Regions from separate parts of the Homo sapiens genome. Here all the other regions are linked to region 1. Evidence: promoter capture Hi-C in human tissues and cell types (Jung and others, 2019). All regions are on one chromosome and are shown on one strand. The core of a region is centred on a gene start or on the middle of the fragment in contact, and the rest is flanking DNA. Distances in the headings are between cores, read along the strand shown.

What was found. The method cuts DNA at HindIII sites, captures the fragments that hold promoters and counts their contacts. A contact is called where the count stands out against the background at its distance.
Region 2: a fragment that was not itself captured here is called in contact with the fragment with the promoter of FARSA in region 1 in 1 of the 25 tissues and cell types used here (lymphoblastoid cells).
Region 3: a contact is called between a fragment that was not itself captured here and the fragment with the promoter of FARSA in region 1, in 1 of the 25 tissues and cell types used here (dorsolateral prefrontal cortex).

What each region holds. Positions count from the first base shown.
Region 1 is chr19:12,931,585-12,935,632 of GRCh38, forward strand. FARSA (phenylalanyl-tRNA synthetase subunit alpha) reads right to left here and starts at 2,127. Exons shown (of 13, transcript NM_004461.3): 1 at 1,966-2,127. The coding sequence starts at 2,112. It overlaps FARSA-AS1 (FARSA antisense RNA 1), which reads left to right. Exons shown (of 3, transcript NR_149078.1): 2 at 1,386-1,453; 3 at 1,565-1,712. RefSeq lists enhancers at 1,730-1,799, 1,810-2,309, 2,031-2,325 and a silencer at 3,362-3,467. The HindIII fragment of the contact is 13,322 bases long and covers 1-4,048 here.
Region 2 is chr19:14,078,886-14,082,933 of GRCh38, forward strand. C19orf67 (chromosome 19 open reading frame 67) reads right to left here. Exons shown (of 6, transcript NM_001277378.2): 5 at 3,584-3,718; 6 at 2,739-3,123. The coding sequence ends at 2,949. Among named protein-coding and RNA genes, the nearest start is that of C19orf67, 4.9 kb to the right of the region's middle. RefSeq lists enhancers at 2,576-2,865, 3,126-3,185. The HindIII fragment of the contact is 5,618 bases long and covers 1-4,048 here.
Region 3 is chr19:11,881,434-11,885,481 of GRCh38, forward strand. No RefSeq gene overlaps it. Among named protein-coding and RNA genes, the nearest start is that of ZNF69, 4.3 kb to the right of the region's middle. RefSeq lists an enhancer at 1-67. The HindIII fragment of the contact is 6,745 bases long and covers 1-4,048 here.

The sequences.
Region 1 (4,048 bases), core at 877-3,376:
GGTGTTGTTATGTTGTCCAGGCTGGTCTCAAACTCCTGGCCTCAAGTGATTCTCCTTCCTCAGCCTCCCAAAGTGCTGGCATAATGGGCATGAGCCACCATACCCAGCCTGTCTCCATGTTTAAATGTTCACATGTCAGTGCCCAGAATGTCAGAGACGGGCCCTGGAGGTCCACATTACAAACAAAAACTGAGGTTCCAGGTCCAGAGTCATGAAGACAAGGACAACAAGGGTAAGTAGAGTGCACAGGGCCTGGCTCCCACTTCATTCTAATCCCAACTCTGCCCTTCACTTACTGTGTGACCTCAGGAAAGTTGCTTAACCTCTCAGTGACTCTTCTCATCCATAAGAGAAAGGTGTGATGGGTTCTACCTCAGATGATTTTAAGGAGTAGCTAAATTAATACTCAGAAAGAATATATAGTGCCTACCACGTGACAAACACTGCATAAATTTTTTTTTTTTTTTTTTTTGAGACGGAGTCTCGCTCTGTCGCCCAGGCTGGAGTGCGATCTCGGCTCACTGCAACCTCCACCTCCCGATTCAAACAATTCTCTGCCTCAGCCTCCCAAGTAGCTGGGATTACGGGTGCCCACCAACACGCCTGGCTAATTTTTTTTTGTATTTTTAGTAGAGACAGGGTTTCATCATCTTGGCCAGGCTGGTCTTGAACTCCTGACCTCGTGATCCACCCGCCTTGGTCTCCCAAAGTGCTGGGATTACAGGTGTGACCACTGCACCCGGCATAAATTCTAATTACTATAATTATTTTTATGGCTATTACTGTCATTAGATTGAACCTCACCTCCTTATATTATTTAACCCTCTGTGACGTATACAAATGTCAGATCATATTGGTCAAGGCACTGTCACCCCACACAACACAGCTGCCATCTCTCCTCTGCATTGAGGACTATGGGCTCTGCAGCCTGAGTGCCTAATTTCAAATCTGGGCTCATCGGCCTCTTCTATTCACACTGATTATGTTACTGACCATCAGTTGTCACATCTGCAAAATGGGAATAACATGGCCATCAGCCAGGATTATGGAATGGATTGGACAAACAAGCTGAGACCAAAGTGGGGCACAGAACATGAGCTCTACGGATAAACAGCCCAGATCCTGGCCCCATGGATCTAGCCTTCTGGGTGGCCCACGGGCCCCTCAGCATCCTACGCCTGTGACTCTGTCACTGTCCACTTGCCCAAGTCAGAAGGCTGGACTTCATCTGTGCGCCCCCTGCCTTGTCCTGAATCCCACGCCTTCCCCACCTCCCCCAAGCTTCCTTCCCATAGCCAGACATCATGCCCTCCAGCTTGGGGAAGTGCCAGCTTCTTCTTTCATCCCTTCACCTCCAGTCCTGTCCATGCCAATTCTTCCCAAAGGTGATGTGGATAGCACACTCATCTGACCGGCTCTAGCTCCTGCTATCGCTTCCCAGTTCCCTCATGAGGTAAAGACCTAAGAGGCTTTGCAATTACAGCTATGCTGGTCTCCCTTGCCGCCTGCCATCCCCCAAGATCCCGGCCACTGATCTCTAAAGTGCTATCACTTTCCTCAACAGAGAACAGACTCAGCCGTCACCTGCACCAGGCCGCTCTCCCTGACCCCCAAGGCTGGGTCAGCTGTCACAGCTGGGTCCCCTGTTTTCCCCCATCACTCTGGTTCTTGAAGCACCTTCCTATTACGTCGCAACCTGCGTGAGGGCAGCAACCGCGACTTCCTCGTCCATCATCGTACCCTCTACCCACGCTGACCGTGCCTCAATAAACGTTTATTGCATGAGGAACATCCGTGCGTCTGGGCCCTCACTCGTCCCACTTCCCGCCCGCACATCCCGGAGTGGACACATATACAGCTACCCCAAACTAGGCCTGAGGGAATTTGGCTTGGACGTAGAGCGCCCGTGGCAAGGGGACTGTAGGTGCAAGGGCAAGGCGGTCCGGCATCACGGGCCCGGCTCACCTCGCCCAGCGCCTGAAGGCTCTTCACGGCGCCCACCACCGCCTGGTGCTCCATGCCCAGCTCAGCCGCCAACTCGGCGCTGTCCAGGCCGCCATCAGACGCCTCCAGCCGCCGGAGCAGCAGTTCCGCCACCTGACCATCCGCCATGACTCCTTCCAGTGTGCTCAGCGTGTCCGGGCCCGGGTGGGCGGGGGGAGCTGAGCCACCGGAACCGGAACCGGAGTGTGTACCGCCATCTTGAATGTGTCTAACTGTAGAACAGGGCTCAATGTGTCGTCATCTTGAGTGTGGCGACGGAGCCGCAAAAGGTGCATGGGACTCAGTTCCCACCTCCACCCTGGCTCCATCAATGGCGTCTGGTTGACCAGAGGGGTAAAATTGATTATCTCAAGGTCAGAAGCACCGCCCTGTTTTGAGTTTTATCTAGCCTCACTTCGAGCGGGCTGTGTGACCTTGGACTTCCCCGTCTCTGGGTTACAGAACCCTCTGCCCTTCTGGTATTCTCTCTTGCCCTAGGAGAGGCGGTGGGTGGTGGGCTCCAGAGATGGTCATTTTGGCGATGTCAGCTACTTTTAAAATTTCAAAGGAAGGCTGGGTAGGTACCGTCCCTTTTTATAGAGGGAAAAGGAATTCACCTAGTAAGTCAAGGTGGCACCTAACCTGTGTGGACTACCTCGTATGTGGTAGTACTTAGCCCAGAACTGAGTACTTCACGTGTAGTATTTCATTTATCCCCAAAACTTTATGATGTAGATACTGATATAACCGCATTACACATGTGAGAAAACTGAGGCTCAGAGGGTGGTATGACTTGCCCAAGGTTCTACAGAGAGTTGGTGGAAATGAAGTCATAAATTATAAACCTTCCAGATCCTCCCACCCCTGTGCGCTGAGAGTAACGTCAGTGCAAATACTGCATGGCCTAGATTAGCACTGTCCTATAGAAACACAGTGCAAAACATCTTTCTTTTTTGAGACAGGGTCTTGCTCTGTCACCCATGCTGGAGTGCAGTGGTGCAATTATGGCTTACTGCAGCCTTGACTTCCCAGGCTCTAAGGATCCTCCAACCTTAGGCTCCTGAGTAGCTGGAACTGCAGGTGCGCGCCACCACACCCAGCTTTTTTTTTTTTTTTAAGTATGGGTTTTGGCCATGTTGCCCAGGCTGGTCTCAAACTCCTAGGCTCAGGTTATCCTCCTGCATCGGTCTCCCAAAATGCTGGCATTAGAGGCATGACCCACCTCGCCCAGCCAGCCAGACCCTGACTCTTACAAAAAAAAAGATGACTAATAAAATATTTTGCACTCGGCCGGGCACAGTGGCTCACCTCTGTAATCCCAGCACTTTGGGAGGCCGAGGCGGGTGGATCACCTGAGGTCGGGAGTTTGAGACCAGCCTGACCAACATGGAGAAACCCCGTCTCTACTAAAAATACAAAATTAGCAGGGCGTGGTGGCGCATGCCTGTAATCTCAGCTACTTGGGAGGCTGAGGCAGGAGAGTCGCTTGAACCTGGGAGGCAGAGGTTGTGGTGAGCCGAGATCGTGTCATTGCACTCCAGCCTGGGTGACAAGGCGAAACTCCGTCTCAAAAAAAAAAAAATTGCACTTTTTTTCATACTAAATCTTCAAAATCTGATGCGTATTTTACACTTACAACACATCTCAGTTCGGACCAACCACATTTCAAATGGTCAGTAATCACATGTGGGCAGTGGTGACTTACGTCAGCACAGGTAGATTAGAATCCTAGATCTGCTGGCCAGGCTCAGTAATCCCAGCACTTTGGGAGGCTGAGGCGGGTGAATCACCTGAGGTCAGGAGTTCAAGACCAGCTTGGCCAAGATGGCGAAACCCCATCTCCTCTAAAAACACAAAAATTAGCTGGGTGCAGTGGGGGTGCCTGTAATCCCAGCTACACGGGAAGCTGAGGCAGGAGAATCACTTGAGCCTGGTAGGTGGAGCTTGCAGTGAGCAGAGATCGCACCACTGCACTCCAGCCTCGGTGACAGAGCAAGGCTCTGTCTCAAAAAAAAAAAAAAAAAAAAAAAAGAATCCTAGATCTGTTATTTATGTCATTCAACCA
Region 2 (4,048 bases), core at 460-2,959, 1.1 Mb after region 1:
CATCTCCTGGGCTCAAGCGGTTCTCCTGCCTCAGCCTCCAGAGTAGCTGAGATTACCAGCACCTGCCACCATGCCCGGCTAATTTTTGTAGTTTTAGTAGAGATGGGGTTTCGCCATGTTGGCCAGGCTGGTCTCAAACTCCTGACCTCATGATCTGCCTGCCTCGGCCTCCCAAAGTGCTGGGATTACAGGTGTGAGCCACTGCATCTGGCTTTTTTTTTTTTTTTTCAGATGGAGTCTCGCTCTGTTGCGCAGGCTGGAGTGTAGTGGTGCGATCTCGGCTCACTGCAACCTCCATCTCCCAGATTTAAGCGAGTCTCCTGGCTCAGCCTCTTGAATAGCTGGGATCACAGGCGCCCACCACCACACCCACCTTTTTTTTTTTTGTTTTTTTTTTTTGCATTTTTAGTAGAGACAGGATTTTGCCATGTTGGCCAGGCTGGTCTCGAACTCGTGACCTCAAGTGACCCACCTGTCTCGGCCTCCCAAAGTGCTGGGATTATGGGCATGAGCCACCATGTCCGGCCAAGATTTCTAAGACAGTACAAAAAAGGAAAATACCTCAATAATTTTTTTACATGGATTATACATTGAAATAATATTTTGGGTATAACAGGTTAAATAAAATATCACGAAAATGAATCTAACCTCTTAATTTTTTATTTTTTATTTTTTTTTGAGACGGAGTCTCGCTGTGTCACCCAGGCTGGAATGCAGTGGTGCGATCTCGGCTCACTGCAAGATCCACCTCCCGGGTTCACGCCATTCTCCTGCCTCAGCCTCCCGAATGGCTGGGACTACAGGCGCCTGCCACCACGCCCGGCTAATTTTTTGTATTTTTAGTAGAGACGGGGTTTCACCGTGTTAGCCAGGATGGTCTCAATCTCCTGACCTCGTGATCCGCCTGCCTCAGCTTCCCAAAGTGCTGGGATTATAGGCATGAGCCACGGCGCCTGGCCCTAACCTCTTAATTTTTTTATGTGGTTACTAGAAAATTTGAAACTACATACGTGATTTGCGTTTGCAGCTCACTTGATATTTCCATTGGACCCCACGAGTCTAAAGAATCTTAAAGGCCGGGCAGGGTGGCTCATGCCTGTAATCCCAGCACTTTGGGAGGCCGAAGCGGGAGGATAGCTTAAGCCAGGAGTTCGAGACCAGCCTGGTCAACATAGGAAGAACCCCCCCCTTCTCTACAATAATAATAATAATATAATAATAATAATAAAATAGGGGCATCGTCGCTGCCTGTACTCCCAGCTGCTTAGGAGGCCGAAGTGGGAGGATCACTTGAACCCAGGAGTTAGAGTTTGCAGAAGTTGGAGGTTCCAGGATTGCGCCATTGCACTCCAGCCTGGGTGACAGAGCAAGACCCTTCCCTCCCCCCGAAAAACATCTTAGAGCCACAGGAAAACTCACAGGGACTCCCTCAAAGCGGTATCAGGGAGCATCAGGATTTCCTTGATGTCATTCAGACCACAGCTGTGGACTAAAAAACATCCTTGATGCAGTCAGAAATTGTCACCAGAAATACCCATGGAAGAGCAATAGTGGCCGGGCGCGGTGGCTCACGCCTGTAATCCCAGCACTTTGGGAGGCAGAGGCGAGCGGATCACCTGAGGTCAGGAGTTGGAGACCAGCCTGGCCAACATGGCGAAACCCCGTCTCTACTAGAAATACAAAAACTAGCTGGGCCTGGTGGCATCAGCCTGTAATCCCAGCTACTCGTGGGGCTGAGGCAAGAAAATCACTTGAGCCTGGGAAGCGGAGGTTGCAGTGAGCCGAGATCATGCCATTGTACTCCAGCCTGGGCGACAAGAGCGAAACTAGTGTTGGCATTCAATATTGATTCATTTCACCTCTAACGTCCTTTTTTATCATCTGGAAATGGAGGCTAATACTATGTGCCAGGGACTGGAAGGTAGGTGCTTTGCTCAAAATCATAAATAAGGGCAGGGCTCTGGGTGTCTCCTCTATGAAAATGCTGCCGGGGGCGGGGGGAGGGGAGGGGAGGGGAGGAGAACCAAAAGGGTCCCTCTTGGATTAAAGGGGTATAACCCGCAGCTGAGTGACACCTGGCTCAGGAGGACACCCTTCCTCCTTGCAACGGGCCACAAGTACCGGGTTGCGATCACAAGTACCCGGTTCAGGTCCAAGGTCCGCCACTTGCTCGCAGGAGCTTTGAGCAGGTGAGTTCATTTCTCTCAGCCAGGGTCTCCTCTCCAGTCCGAGATTAGAGAGAGGCTGAGAGATCCTAAGCTTGGATACCGTAGGGCTCTCCCACCTTGTCCGCACCCCGGATACCCCAAGAAAGACGACGACCTGTCCGGCCCCCAAGTCCCAAAAGCTGGAAGAGAAAAAAAAAGTCTAACTCGGGCCCTTAGGAAACTGATCGAGGGCACTTTCCTGGGGCGCGTCGGGAAAAGTAGTCTTCTACGCTAAAATAAATAACTTCCGGGTCAAAATATGGGAGTGGGCGTAGCCTTAAGTCTCTTCCTCCAGTGGACGTTGAATTTCCCCGGTACCCTAAACTTGCAGTTTTCTGGGTTCCGGTGTTGACGGGCACCACTTCCCTTTTTGCTTCATGTGCGCCTATGCGCATGCGCCAAACTCTCGTCCGCCTATTGGCGAATTCCAGGCTTCTTTCAAAAGACTACATTTCCCAGAAGGCCACGCGAGTGGGTGGGGCAATCCCCCGGGGGAGGGGCGCGGCATTCGCAGCGGACGCTGAGCCTGTGACCTCTTTCTTTCTTTTATTTAACACAAAACTGACGTGTCCGCATTCAGGGCCCCACGGCCAAGCCGGACTCGGTGCAGACAGGTCAGCTCGGCCTGGCCCTTTGGAAGGCGAGGCCGGGCTGCACTGCGAGAACGAGTGAGCCCCTCCCCTGCCCCCTATTCTGGAGTTTGGAACTGTCAAGTTCCAGCTCCTACCCTCTTCCCCAGGTTCAAGACCCCTGCGCTGCCCACCCCGCAGGCCCGGCTGCGCTCGGAGGCCGGGCCTGGCCTGCCTGGCCCGTGAGGATCTGCACCAGCAGGTCGGTGGCCAGCGTGGGCGTGGGCTCCTCGAAGCCGATGGTCAGCAGCTGCTGGTAGTCCCCAAGCGGCTGCGGGCACAAAATCCTGGGGTGGGGGGGCCAGGGATAGACAGGCCTGGACTTGAGTGCCCCCTGCCCCTCGGGAGTCCCTCCCTTTGAGTGAGAGGCTCAGGTGAAAGAGGCTTTGTTTCAGCTGCGGGTGGGAAAAACCCCCGGGGGAAACTTGTTTCCTTGTTGATCAGAGACTTAGTAATGGCTCCTAGAGGCTGAATAACTGGTCCTGACCTGTCCATTCGCTCTGCTAGCTGTGTGTCCTTGGGCAGGTAACAACTTCTCTGAGCACCCTGTTTTCTTTGTTAAATGGGGCCAATAGCATAGATCTCCATGGGTTGTTACTGGGGTCTGCATGAAGTGCTTTTCAGGGCACAATAAAATGCTATCACTACTAAGGGAAGCAAAGTGTTTGGGAAGGTGGATTGTCTTTGGTGGGGTTCTGCCTCCCCCTCCAGCTCCCAGGCCCACGTTGCTATTGCCCTAGCTCCTACCATGAATAAAGGTCATCCTCGGCTGGTCCTAGGGGCACCCATCGGCCGATGGACCACAGCTTCTGGATCTGTGGGCACGAATTGGCTGGACTCTGGCCTGTGTCTTCCCAAGTATCTCGATAGCACAGAAAGTAGCTAGGAGGGGAGGGAGCTGTAATTAGAAGTGATCAGCTTCCTAGCTACTTCTGTTGAGGGCTTTAATTTTGGAGTTGAGGTGGGAACTCATCAGAAGTTGCCCTGAAGTTCTCAGGTAGGAATGTGACTCCAAGGCCTTTTCTCCCTGCCAGCCTACTTTTAAGATGAGAACTTTTATTTTGGTGGGAGGGTGGGTTTTAAGAAAATAGAGGTAGCCTTTCAAAAGCCTTTAGTTTCCTGGTTCACTTTTTTTTTTTTTTAAGAGACAGATTATTGCTTCCACTCAGGGTGGAGTGCAGTGGCACAATCACAGCTCACCGTAGCCTTGAT
Region 3 (4,048 bases), core at 524-3,023, 1.1 Mb before region 1:
CACTTCCAGTGAGGGATAGGCAAAAGACCTCCTAATATGAGGGGTTGAGCCACAAGGAACCCCCCAAATAGGCAAGAGATCCTTAATTTGAGAGGCTGAGCCACAAGGAACCCCCAAAATAGGCAAGAGATCCTTAATATGAGGGGTTGAGCCACAGCAAGCCCCCCTAGGCAAGAGATTCCTATCACGAGGGATTGAGCCTAGCCAGGACCCAGTATAGGAAATATTACAAGCAAAAAAGACAAAGTTAGCAACAAAGATATCCCCCCTAATAGTCCCCTAGGTCTCATGTTAAAACATTAGAAAGATAATGAAAAGACTAAACATAAGAAAAAGCAATTAGTGATAAAATATTGCTGTTCCATTTAGACTCAAGAACGAATCCTTGAACCCTTAGTTTTCTGGCCAGAATTTAAGTCGAATGAGGGATGGATTTGTGAACTTCTAATAGAAAATGTTGCTAGTAGAAGACCTGCCTCCTGAGAAGAAACAAATTATGCCCTATGTTAGTTGCAAGGAGTTGTCCTTTCCCCTCCTCCAAGGATTGAAAGGAGCAAGTCAAAAACTAATATTTGGAGGAAAATGAGTTGTACATGTGCCCTATTAAGATAGAACCATCTTTAATGAAAAAGACAGTGAAGGAAGGGGCTTGGGGGATCCTAGCAAAAAGAACAACTCGCAAGATCCCCTAGACCATTCCCCACCTAATACCCAACCCTTCCCCTCAGGCATCGCCCAGTAAGTCTGTTCTTCCCCAGCCTAAGTCCCTCTCCCCTAAAGAACTCCAAGCTCCTAATTCACCAGATGGCTTTTGCCAGGCTAGCAACATGAAGGATCTGCCGCAACATGTTGTCAGCGTTGTCTGGCCCATAGTGCACCCCTGCAGCGGCAAAGCCCATGCTCCTGCCCACTGGCTGGTCCAAGGTCCTGGCACTGTATTGACGGCAGCTCTGCATGACATGCGAGCCAGGCCCCAGCCTATGCCCCATGCAAACTACATTATAGGATATCTGCCTTACTTTGCTGAGGCTAAGTAATACGGGGCTTCAGCGATGGCTCCAAGCAGCCTGGCATCCCCGCAGCTAAGTTTCCTGAGCAAGAAGTAGATAATCTTTCAGCGGATATATCCACTAGCATTTATTATAGTCAGGCCAGTGTTAAAAGTGAAAATATCCACCAGAAAAGAACTCTGATTCTTTAAAGTCACCTATGTTAAAATGTACCACCAAAAAAGAATTACATGTGTATAAATATGAGGCTATTCTGTTAAAAATGATAGTTTAATGTTACTAGTAATTTGCTTAACCTAACAAGTTTCTTAACGAAAGATCCAAATCTAAAAAGGAAGCACACATGTTTAGATTTAACTGATTACCATACAAATGTCCGGCCAAACTTAAGAGAAACCCCCTTCAAAAATGATTAAAGGAAAAAGGATTCAACAGATGTTCAATAATAAATAGAGAAGTTCCTAGAGAAATAAAATTTAAAAATTGTTTAATAGTTTACCCAAATTTGTAAGCTGTTTGCACTTAGTCAAGCTTTAAAGTAACTGCAAAGGAACCATCTATACTAATCTATATTGATTCTAAATACACCTTTATCGTGGCTCATACATTTAGAAAATTTCAGACAATAATAAAGGTCAAAGCCTTGTTCATGAAGAGTTAATAACCCAAGTGTTAAATAACCTTCAGTTACCAGAAAAAAAAAAAAAGCTATTTTCCACGTCCCCAGGCACCAAAAATCCTATCTTTCAAGAGTTAAGAAAATAACCTAGCAAATCAGATAATCCGAACCAGCTGCCGTTTCTCCTGTAGGCACTGAAGGGAATTCAAATGTTATTTAAACCTCTTATGAAAGAAGTCCTATCCCACCTAAATTAGAGGACCCATTAAAGACCTCAAGCTATGTATAGCACAGTTAAAGTTTATATGTGTATGAAAATGTACATCCTTAGCCAAACAAGTCTAGAAACTTAGTTGCCATAACTCAAATGTCTTCTGTCTTCCTATTAATCCAAACTACCTCTCAAAGCAATCCACTGCCAACATTCCTACATACTTGGTTTATCTTCCACTTTCTCTTCCCTCAAAACTCACAATTTTCCAGTACAGGTGCGGCTCCTGGAGTTCCCAGTGCGTCAACACCGGCCTGAGGAGCTGGCCTAGTACTTCCCACCATTGAAACTGCAGTCTGGACAGCAGAGAAAGGATAGACCCATCACACCCGAGTCAAGAAAGCACCGCCACCCCCAAAGTCGTAGGCCATTATTCCAGGGGAAAACCCCCTCAAACTAAAGCTAAGAAAAATTTAACCTCTTACATCTATTCTATTACTCTTTCTTCTTTTCCCCTTCCAATGCTGACCACCTTGTCATTAATGTAACTCAATCAAACTCACCCCAAGTTATCACGTTTAATGCTATGTCTAGTCATACCCTGTAAAGATCTCCAAAGTCAAAGACAAGTCTCAGCCTCAGAAAAGTATCTCTGCCCCTTTAAGGTGAAAGGCCCCCCCTACCAAGACTCTTGTTCCTTAACAAATATAAGAAAACAAGTCTGTCATAGCTAGAATGATGTCCTATGGACAACCAAATGTCAAGGCTAGACCTCATCAGCAGGTGGCTGTATATCCTTAAAACCATACATTCATTTCACTAAAAAAAGCACCTCCCCAATTGCCAGTATAATCAATGTAATCCCATACAAATTTCCACCTCTACTGACCCTAAACCTACTTTAAGTCACTTCTATGGAACAGGAGCCAACTTGGCCAGCACAGACCTCATAAGATCTTTCGAAATGCGTTTTATTAATCCTTCATTCTCTTCACCCCCTTCCTTCTCTTCTCCTTCTAAGCTTTCTTCTAATCAGACTGCCACCTGTTTTCTACCTAATGATACTACTAAAGTAAATATTGTAGAAGTAAAAGATTTAAGACAAACCCTAGCAATTAAAACAGGATATCAAGATGTAAATACCTGGTTGGAATGGATTCAATATTCCGTCCGCACATTGAACAAAAGCAATTGTTACGCTTGTATGCATGGCAGACTAGAGGCCCAGACTGTTTCCTTTCCACTAGGATAGCCCTTCAGCCGACCAGGCATAGGCTGTATGGTAGCTCTTTTCCAAAATTCCACAGCCTGGGGCAACAAATCATGCCAAGCTCTCTCTCTGCTATATCCCGAAGTCCAACAACCTGCAGGCCAGCCCCCAAAGGCCATTCAGCTTCCTTCTCCTGACGTCAATTTCACCTCATGTCTCTCACGACGAGGGGAGAATCTGGCGTTCCTTAGAAGCTTAACAAGATGCAATAAGCTTAAGCCCTTCCAAAAACTTACCCATCAGTCTGCCCTTAGTCATCCTCAAGCAGATGTATGGTGGTATTGTAGTGGACCTTTACTGGATACTCTGCCAAGTAACTGGAGCGGCACTTGCGCTCTTGTCCAATTGGCGATCCCTTTCACACTGGCATTTCATCAACCAAAAAAAAAGAAAAGCCACAACACCAAAAAATAAGAGAAGCCCCTTATAAGTCTTTTGACTCTCAAGTTTACATAAAGGCCATTAGAGTCCCATGGGGAGTGCCTAACAAGTTCAAAACCTGAGACCAAATAACTGCAAGATTTAAACCCATATTTCCCCGAATAACTATTAATAAAAATGTAGCTTCGATAAATTACATCTATTATAATTAGCAGCAGTTTATGAATTACACCAAGGATCTTATCAAAAAACAGCTGACCAGTTAAGGCCTACTAGCCAAATAGCTTAAGAAAACAGAATCACTTGACTGGGCGCGGTGGCTCATGCCTGTAATCCCAGCACTTTGGGAGGCCAAGGTGGGCGGATCACAAGGTCAGGAGATCGAGACCATCCTGGCTAACATGGTGAAACCCCCGTCTCTACTAAAAAATACAAAAAAAGTATCCGGGCGTAGTGGCGGGCACCTGTAGTCCCAGCTACTGGGGAGGCTGAGGCAGGAGAATGGCGTGAACCCGGGAGGCAGAGCTTGCAGTGAGACAATATGGTGCCACTGCACT